Regions from separate parts of the Homo sapiens genome. Here region 1 is linked to region 2. Evidence: promoter capture Hi-C in 16 types of primary human blood cells and fetal thymus (Javierre and others, 2016). All regions are on one chromosome and are shown on one strand. The core of a region is centred on a gene start or on the middle of the fragment in contact, and the rest is flanking DNA. Distances in the headings are between cores, read along the strand shown.

What was found. Contacts are between HindIII fragments. The CHiCAGO score rates a contact against its expected background, and 5 or more counts as called.
Region 1: a fragment that was not itself captured here is called in contact with the fragment with the promoter of WDR75 in region 2 in 1 of 17 cell types (total B cells); the score reaches 5.9 in total B cells.

What each region holds. Positions count from the first base shown.
Region 1 is chr2:183,122,130-183,127,401 of GRCh38, reverse strand. NUP35 (nucleoporin 35) reads right to left here and starts at 2,959. Exons shown (of 9, transcript NM_138285.5): 1 at 2,905-2,959. The coding sequence starts at 2,944. LOC124907917 (a long non-coding RNA gene) reads left to right here and starts at 2,445. Exons shown (of 2, transcript XR_007087331.1): 1 at 2,445-2,609; 2 at 2,695-3,485. RefSeq lists an enhancer at 2,141-2,909. The HindIII fragment of the contact is 1,894 bases long and covers 2,385-4,278 here.
Region 2 is chr2:189,437,839-189,443,022 of GRCh38, reverse strand. It overlaps WDR75 (WD repeat domain 75), which reads right to left and starts at 1,549. Exons shown (of 21, transcript NM_032168.3): 1 at 1,445-1,549. The coding sequence starts at 1,530. It also overlaps a transcript of COL5A2 not described here. RefSeq lists enhancers at 1,104-1,153, 1,174-1,403, 1,424-1,553, 1,814-2,033, 2,054-2,213 and 1 more. The HindIII fragment of the contact is 5,353 bases long and covers 1-4,640 here.

The DNA of each region.
Region 1 (5,272 bases), core at 2,082-4,581, 6.3 Mb after region 2:
TCACGCCTGCAATCCTAGCACTTTGGGAGGCCAAGGCAGGAGGATCACTTGAGCTCAGGAGTTCAAGACCAGCCTGGGCAACACACTGAGATCTCATCTTTTTTATTTAAAAAAAAAAAAAAATTAAAGAATCATCATTAAATATCCCCCTAATATAAAGCCAACTTAGAGAACTGAAACCTCACAATTGATACAAAATAAATCCTCACAATCTATAGAGTAGATATTATTTCCCTTATGAAGATGAGTGAGCTATATAATTCTAATTTCAGAGCAAAATAGCAGAATAAGGAAAACAATGGGCTATGGAGTCAAAGATGTGGGTTCAAGTTCTCTCAGTAAAAGGGAATAAGCATAGCTAGCATCCACTAACAGAGCTTTTGTTAGAATTATAGCAAGTATAGCTTGACCTGGTACCTGATACACAGGTGCTCAATAAATACGAATTATTATTTTCTACAAATATTTTATAATAGCAAAAACTGAGTAAAGTATAAATGTAGAATTTGCAATCTCTGCTTATGAAAATAATTTTCAACTAGGTGACAAGCCTGAGTGTGACTCATTGCACTCAGAAGGGTCAAATGTTTGCTATGTTATTTGTATGGTTTTTTATTAACTATTACTTAACTTCTAGATGGCCTTAACAATCTGTTTCTTAATATCCGAAAGCTGCCAACTATTTAGTCTTCCTCTTATTTCCCATTATATTAGGCCTAGATATTAACAATACAAGTGTATAAAAGACAAAAAAAAAAACAAATTCAATAAATGGATAAAGCAAATGCTAAAACAAGGTGTGAAAAACTCTAATTACATTGTAATTATTTTATAAAGTGCTAGTTACTATGTTACATGGCACTGTAGAAATATTTCGTAAGAAGATCCACTAAAATCAAACCAAAAGTCTAAACAAAAGCATATTCTTAACAGATATTCAGAATACCATATTAAACGCAAAGTTTTTGGTAACATTCACTACATTCACTCCCCCTCCCTAAAAGAAAAAAAAATTATAGCAAAATAAAGTAAGAATTGGCTTAAGAAAAGTTCTGATGTATCTGGATACATACAGACACAGTAGAAGGCGCAAGCCTCTAATCCCAGGATTTTGGGAGGCCGAGGCAGGTGGATCGCTCGAGCTCAGTTCGAGACCAGTCTGGACAAAATGGCGAAACCTTGTCTCTACCAAAAATACAATAAGTAGCTGGGAGTGGCGGCACACTGTGGTCCCAGCCCCTGGGAGGCTGAGGTGGGAGGATTGCTTGAGCCCGGAGGGGGAGGTTGCAGTGAGCTGAGACTGCACGACTGCACTCCAGCCCAGGTGACACGGCTGTGTCAAAAAAGAGGAAGGGAGGGAGGGAGAGAGGGAAGAAGGAAGGAAAAGAAAAAAGAAAGCACCAGACAGGAAGGAGGGCACAATGGGCTCTTAATCAGGACTGTCACCAACCACCCCTCAGGCTAAATTTCACTTAAAGCAAACTTAAGGAAAAGATGCTGCATGTCCTCAATTCCATTTCATATTCTGTGCTCCCAAAAGATACGTACTCAGCTAGCAGTTTGTTGAAGTCAACCCTTAGTTTTACTACACCAGTGGGCACCTGGAATATCTGCAAAATGTGGACTTAAACATTAATACTGGCTAATGTCAGATTTCTGGCAAGGCAATATACAGGGATTGGTTTACTCACATTTGTAACCCCAATAAATATGCACTCCAAAATGTTTTTGTTGAATAGAAAAATTTGGAACTGGAAATGAAGAGTTTTTGATCTCTAAAATACATTAAAAATAAATACCAAGACGACATCTATATATAAATTTTAATGCAGAGTATCTGCATTATTGACATTATGCATTTAGTTTTTTTATGACAGACTAAAGTAGTTCAAGTTACTCTATTCTCAAAAAGAACTTATTTTACACCAAACATGGCAAGCATTACATACCCTTCAAATCTAAAGACTCTTTCCACACCATATATATTACATTTGCTCTCTTTTCCAAGCTCAGAAAGTTATAACCTAACTTTTCAGGTAAGTCTCTATGACAGTAAGACGGTTTATTTTCCGTTCTAAAATTTTCGACGATTCTCACAAGTCGCAAAACTCAGCAGGAAAAAAAGAAATCCGCGTGCTGTTAAAGTGGTAGATTTTTTTCAAAGACGACATATTTCAACGAGGCTCCGCAATGAATAATGGGAATGAATCTTTAAAAAAATTCAGATCGTGACTTACTAGAGAAAAATACCTCCTACAATACTTAAGAGTCACTTTCCCCAAATAAAGGCGGGAAATATCGTGCGAACTCCTAGCTTGCTGTTAAGGTCAATATCTCAATGATTACCAACCACACGGTTGATTAAATGTTGCACGATTCAAGCTTCCATTAATAACAAGATTCCTTTGGCAAAGCCCGGGAGAGAGGAGTCAAAACAGGAACTGGAAGCACCGGTGATCAAGAAGCAGTGGACTGCACCCACACACTTCAGGGCACCGCCCACCCACGTGTACCGCGGTCAGTTCCTCCCAGGGATGCTTCTGGGGACCAGCAACCAGCTGGGAATCCAGCAACCAGCATCGCGTCTCGGGTATCAGAAGGAGGTTAAGGTATGGGCCAGTCTAACGTGGCTGGCGTGTGGGGGCACAAACACAGCTCAGTCACCGCCAGACGGCCTTTTCTTCACCCTCCCAGGGCCCTCAGCTTCCCGGCGCCACCTTTGTAGCAGTATGGAGGCGACGCGTCGAGTAGGGGACCGACTATGAACTTGGGGGCACCCAAGGATTCCCTCTCCGCGACTGAAACCAGCAGACGAGAGCCTGACGACTGCCTTTCAGTCTTGCCCGCCTCCAGGCCCAGAGCATGGATGGCAGTGCCAGCAAGGAAAAGCAATATTTCACTCACCTAACGCGGGCCCCTGAGGTTCCACTGCAAAGGCTGCCATTGCGTCGGCAACTACACTTAAAACCAGTACCTTCCCAATTAATTTTCAAAAATGGCGGAAACGCTCCCCACGGGTAACGGCGTGCTACCTTATGGGGTTGCGTAACTTCCGGACCTGCGCTATGCTTAAGTTGTAGGCGCCGGAGCCATTTTGGAATAGGGCAAAGTCTTTGCGCTGAGAATTTCCGAGGAAAGGGTTTTTGCACCGGGAAGGTGGCGAACCAGCGTATGGTTCTGTGAATGCTTTTCATCCGGGAATGCTTCCTGATTTGTGGGTACTTAAGTTACATAGAAGCACAGATTATTTTACTCACGGTTTCATAATTAGCGTGAGTTGACCCAGTGCTCTATCATCGGTCAGCTTTTCTGAGTAGCACCTGGAAAAGTCAGCTTGATGAAAACAGTTGGTGCCTCTTTGCAATGTCGATTTCTGGACTTAGTACATGACGCTTTTTCCTCAAAGCATGTTTTCTACTATCCGTATGCCATTTCTTTTAAATTTTGTGTTATGTAGACAATTTTACATTAAAGCGTAACTCATACGCCGTTTTGTTGCATATTAAAACATACAAAAATATAGCTAACGAACGCATAAAGTACACATGTAAATAATGGAAGATAATTATACGCACCCACGAACCCTCCACACCGCGGAATCTTGCGTGCTTCTGCATGTGCCATCCCTGCCGTCCACGTCCCCTCACTTTGCTGCTTTTCTTTAGGGCATAGTCATACGTAAATCACATACACATATTCTGCATATGTGTGTGTAAAAATATATTGTTTAGTTTTGCTCAAATACTAACTTTATAAAATAATGTGCTACATATGTATAACTGGGGACGTTCTCTGCTCCATACCATGAGGATTATTTCCAAAATATCCACCCATGCTCAGCTATTTCTTCTAGGACTTCCTAAAATCTCAAATGGAGGAAGAATTTTGTCTTTGGAATGAGGCAGTAACAATTCCAGAATTAAATGGTAGGTTCACAGAAATCAAATTTTAAAACCACTCACAGATCGAATTGACTTTTTGAAAATGGGTGTGTGAATTGAATTGTGTCCCTCAAAAATTTATGTTCAAGTCCTAACCCTCATACTTATGAATATGACCTTATTTGGAAATCGGGTCTTTGCAGATGTAATAAAGTTCAGATAAAGTCACATTGGAGTACCACAAGCTCGGTTAACTAAACCAGCACAAATGTATCTCTTACAGTTCTGGAGGCCAAAAATCCAAAATGAGTATTGTAGGGCTAAAATCAAAGTACCAGAAGGACTATTTTCTTCTGGAGGCTCCAGGGGAGAATCTATTACCTTGCTTTTTCAAGCTTCTAGAAGCCACTTATATTTCTTAGCTTGTGCCACCTTCCTGCTTTTTCAAAGCCAACGATGTAGCATCTTTGGTCTGTCTGACACTGCTTTGTTCAGCTTCTGCCATCACATAGCCTTGTGATGACATTTAGGACCCACCCAGGTAATCCAGGATAATCTTACTATTTCAATATTCAGTAGAGGTGATTAAGTTAATAATCACATCTTCAAAATACCTTTTGCCATATAAGGTAACATTCACAGATTCTAAAGCTTAGTGTATGGATATCTTTGGGGAGTAGTCAGCCCACAACACAGGGCAATCCACTTTTTAGAATTAAGCTACCAAGAAAGGTATATCAATGTATAAATTTCTACACACATTGAGGCTAGATGTGGTGGCTCACACCTGCAATCCCAGCACCTTGGGAGGCTGAGGGGTTGATCACTTGAGTCCAGGAGTTTGAGATAGTGAGACCCCACTTCTCTACAAAATAAAAAAGAAATTTCTATACAAATTATGATCTAGCCAAACAAAAGAACACTATACAACAACTAAAATGAATTAGATGGATTTGATATGAGTGTAAATATTAACCTAGAAAGACCTCTGTGATAGATATAATGAAAAAAAGTAATTTGAAAACATGCATGCATATACGGCACCATTTTTATTTAATAACGGGTTTATTTAGGAACAGATGCAGAGAAAGAGAAAAGAGTGATACTTCTTTAAATAAAAGAAGATGTTGAAAAAGATTTGCACCAGCCGGGCATGGTGGCTCATGCCTGTAATCCCAGCACTTTGGGAGGCCAAGGCGGGCGGATCACGAGGTCAGGAGTTCCAGACCAGCCTGGCCAACATGGTGAAACCCCATCTCTACTAAAAAATACAAAAATTATCCGGGCATGGTGGCACATGCCTGTAATCCCAGCTACTTGGGAGGCTGAGGCAGGAGAATCGCTTGAACCCAGGAGGTGGAGGTTGCAGTGAGCCAAGACCATGCCACTGC
Region 2 (5,184 bases), core at 300-2,799:
TGTTGGGCTTAGCAAATCAAACACACAATGGACCTCATTATAATGAATAAGGTATAAGAACAGTACTGGTTACATGGATATGAGTCCGAAGCGTCACAGTGTGACAGCCTCTTAAAGCCTGTTTCTTCCTTTGATTCATAAGATCAATGTCAACAAAGCCACAGGACTCATTTTTTTTTGGCTTCTAAGGCAATTTATAAAAGCTCTTTCAGTCATGCTTGCATTACCTTCAACAACTACCTGTCGTACACTCATATGCAGAATATTGTGGGGGTGGGCCGGGCACAGTTGCTCACTGTAATCGCTGCACTTTGGGAGGTTCAGGTGGGCAGATCACTTGAGGCCAGGAGTTCCAGGGCAGCCTGGCCAACATGGCGAAACCCTCTCTCTACTAAAAATACAAAAATTAGCGGGCGTGGTGGCCCGCGCTTATAATACTTGCTACTCAGGAGGCCGAGGCACCAGAATTGCTTGAACCAGGGAGGCGGAGGTTGCAATGAGCCTAGATTGAGCCACTGCACTCCAGCCTGGGTGACAGAGTGAGATTCTGCATCAAAAAAAAAAAAAAAAAAAAAAAAAAGAATATTGTGGAGGCTACAAACTTTCATAAAATACTATCTCTACTCTTCTAAGGCAGAAAGGGTTTTTTGATTTTATTAAGTGCCACCCTACCTAAAGTTATTTGAAAACCTGACAATACAGTAATAATGATTACAGCTACATACATTGAGCCATTATGTGCCGGGCATTGTTGTCTGTAGTTTTAACATATTGAGGCATTTAATCCTCCCAATAACCACGTGAGATGAACTAAATATTGTCCCCCTTTACAGATGATGGCAACTGAGGCAAAGATTAAGAAACTTACAAAGGTTTCATAATGTAAGAAGTGGATTTTGAAGCCAGGGAGTGGTTTGGTTTCCAGCTACACTGAGAAAAGAGACCAAGTCTTAGCGTATTTTTATCTCATAAAGAATCTAACATCTGTTTTCATGTAAAGTTCCGAAAAGACTGCACTATGCTTCATGCACTATGCTTCAGGAGTGAGGAGTGGGTAGAAAAAGCGGAATAGTTTTAGGTTTTAGTCACTCCAAAACATGATTCTGTACGAAAGAGTAGGTACTGCAAAGGTAGTGGCATACACATCCACCCCTGGACCATTTTCCAGCCGCCCGAACACCTTCCAGATCCTCGACACGGAGACCGGCTCCAGGGCCTTTATCTACCTGCAGGTAAACTGTCCAGGAATCGGGGGACGCAACCCAATCTGCAGTGGTAACGGGACCTCCCAGGTACCCTGGGGATCCCCCACAGGCGCGTGCTCTACCCAAAGCCGATATCCGCCAGGCGGGCGAGTCCGAACGCGACTGACAATTCCTTCTCCCCGACCCTCGAGAAACTCACGCCCCGCCCCTCAGCCGACAAAGCGCGGTGCCCCTCATACTTAGAATCTGCAGAGAACACAGCTCTCCTAAAGTTCAACTCGCTGCCGCCACAACGAACCACGCGGATGTTCTCCTCCTCCACCATCTTTGCGCAGTAGCGGAATGGCCAATCTCTGGTCCCGCCCTGAACTTCCTTCGTTGAGCCGGGTAATAAGGCTGTTCCCAGCCCACAGAACCCACCCCCGGGCCCTTCTAGGCCTGAGACTCGGTGGTAGGACTCCGCTTCCGTGCAGGCACCTTTTGTGTGGGCAATGTCAAACTAAGACACTTGTAAGAAAAGGTGAAAGCAAAACAGAGATTTAGAGACAATCAGTTTTTATTATATACCTATACACAATTATTTAATACAGACATATTTCTCTCAGGCCTTGTCAACCTGACTCTATGGCTTTTTCCGCCAGAAGGGAAAGGTGGCGTATAGTGTACCACGTGACCTCCAGTCGTCCCACCGGAGGCGTCGCTTTCTAGTGTCTGTGGTGTCGGCGCTGCAGGATGACGCGAGCCTCTCGCGTCCCTGGTTTTCTCGGTCGCAGCGTTGAGTTATTGGGTGGAAAGGTAGCTTTCTCTTCCTTGTACAGCTTTTTGTTCCTCTCATTAGCCGTTCTTCTGTTCTTGTGAACATCGCTTAGGTTACTACAGAATCTCCACAGTCCTAGGGCCTAGCTTTCTTCCTTTGGAAATCTGGCTCCTACTCCGGGATTCTGGTGCATCTTCCGCAGCGTTCAGTGTAGCTGCTCGGGCTAATCTGACATTCGGCCAGTCCCGCCAGGTTTCAGGGCGCTGGTCTCTGGTTTCCTGAGTTTTACCTTTTCCCATTAGTGAATAGAATCTGTGGGTTAGGAACCCCTAAAATCTCAACATGTTTATTTTTGCCAGTTTATCTCCAGTTTTCCTTTGTAAACTTACACGTATCATATTCTTGGACCCTGTATATTATGTTGCCTATTTTGATTTCGCTTCTTGATTTGTGGATTTACCACAAAATTACCAAGGTCTCAAATATAGTCACATGTCACATAAGGATCTTTCAATCAATGCATATAACATGGTGATTCCGTAAGATTATAATACTGTGTTTTTACTGTACCTTTTATGTGTTTAAATACACAAATACTATTCTGTTACAATTGCCTGCAATATTGAGTACAGTAACATGTTGTTCAGATTTGTAGCCTAGGAGCAATCAGCTATAACGTACAGCCTAGGTGTGTAGTAGGCTGTACCATCTAGGTTTGTGTAGGTACACTCTGTGATATTCACACAATGATGAAATCACCTAAAATGCATTTCTTAGAACATATCCCCATCATTAAGCCACACATGATTATACCTATAAGTTTATTTATGGTGGAGAAATACAATATTCACAAAGGTCAAGACATATCCTGGGACAGCACCACTGTAAAAATCAGGGATAAATTTACTTTTTACTGAGGAGTCTAGCTTATTAAAGTGCTCAAAACTTTATTATTTGGGGAGCCAGAACTAGAAAGGGAGATATTTAATAATTTTGGTTTATCTCAAGCTGTAACCAGCTTTCTCTTTCATGACTGTGATACCCTTTGTCACAGTGGATGGAGTGTAAAATATCACTTTTGATTCTGCAGCCTTAACCTCTTTTTGTTTAGTCTCTTGATGTATGCACAATAAATCTTTTAAAGACTTTGTTGGGTACTTTGTAACCTGATACAGGCTTTTCCTTAGGGCCTGAGCCAAGAAACAAAATAAATATTTTCACTCAAATTAGTGTGACTTTAGTTGTATGTTACTGTATGGTAACTTTAGATTTTTCAGAAAAGAATCAGAAATCCTGATATGGACAAAAACTAGCTGGATTGATAAATGTATAGGAGGATTATTTTACACAGAGTTTTAATTTACTGAAGTGCCCAGAAAGATAAGTCATTTGTATTTTGATTTCTTTTTACATAATTTTTAAGGAACCAATCCCACCTACAGCTGTTTAATTAATAGTGCGTTGTCTTTATCATGTAACAAGAAGGCTGAGGTAGGCAGAATAGGGCTAGTGCAGTGGATCATTCATGCCACCAGGGACCTGTGCTTTCTCTACTTTGTTCTTTGTGTTATTGTCCTTAACCATATTGGTTTTGTCCTTATGCTCACAGTTCATGTTCCTTTCAGTTAGAAGAAATAAGGGAATAGCAAGAAAGAGCATAGCCTATATACAGAAGGAAAAGGATTTTCCAGAAACACTTATTTGGCATCTTCCATCCAGGAAATATTTACTAAGTGCCTAGTATATGCCAGACATTCTTTCAGGCTCTGGGAATACTGGAGTGAGAAAAATAGTTAACAAAATCTGTATGTTACTGGACCTTACCTTATCATGGGAAGAAACAAAAACTTATTATACTTTTGATGTATTTATGTGCCAAGGGGAAACTCAAAGTAGAAAAGAAAGTGATTATAAGGGTTTGATCACCTTTATTATGGGTTTTCAGGGAAAGCCTTACTGAGAAGGTAACATTTGAAATAACCTGAAAAGGTTGAGAGTGTGAATAAGCATGGAGCTGTTTGGTGAAAGAGTCAGCCAGAGGAAAGAGTATTCCTTTCCATGTTCAAGATAAGTCAAGAGGCCAGTGTGGCTGGAGAATAATCATCAAGGGGGTATAGTAAAAGGTGAGGTCAGAGAGGTAATAAGAGGCCAGTTCATAGGGTCTCCTAGATCATTGTAACAGCTTTGGGTTTTACTCTGAAATTGAAGACAGTGTAGCCTTTGTGTTAAAAAGTGAAACGATTAGGCTAATTTTAAAAATTTACATACAATAAAATCTGCTTTCTTTGATATCTATGATGCACAAATTATCGTATCCACCATCACAAATAGGATACAGAAGAATTCCAGCACCTCAAAGAATTCCCCAGTATTTCTCCTTCCCCTCCCCAAGACCTATCCCCTGGCAACCACTAATGTTCTCCATCCCTAGTTTTGCCTTTTCCAGAAAGCCATGTATAAATGGTATCATATAGTATGTAACCTTTTCAGTCTAGCTTCTTTCAGTTAGCATATTGCATTTATGTTATGTGCATCAGTGCTTTATATTGCTGAGTGGTATTCCATTGTATGGCTATTTCACAGTTTATTTGTTGAATGTGTTTTACCCCCAGGTTTTAGAAATTATGCATAATACTTCTCTAAACATTCATATGTAGGTTTATGTGTGAACATAAGCTTTTATTTTTCTAGGATAAATACCAGCAAATGAGATTGCTCAAATCATAAGTGTATGTTTATTTAAGAAATTGCCAAACTCTTTTTTTCCCAGAGTTACTGTACTATTTTTGCATTTCCATAAGTAATGTATGAAAGTTTTAGTTACTTTACACCCTTGTCAGGACTTGGTATTGTCAAGGTTTTTTTTTTTTATTTTAGCCATCATAATAAGTTTGTAGTGGTATTTCATTGTGGTTTTAATTTTCACTTCCCTAATGACTAATGCTGAGCATCATTTTATATCCTCTTTGGTGAAGTGTCATCAAGTCCTTCACGCATTGCTTTATTGGTTATCTTCTTGTTGAGTTTTGAGCATTCTCTTTTAAAATTTTTATTTTTATTTATTTTTTATTTAATAAAATTTTTAAAAGCTTTCCCATTAGTGAGAAGGATTTAGTCACATTTTTACTGCTTAGTATCTTCATGTATGTTTCTGTTCCCTTCAACAGATATAAACACCATGTACAGTATTTCACACCACTACCCTGCATAATGTACATAGGA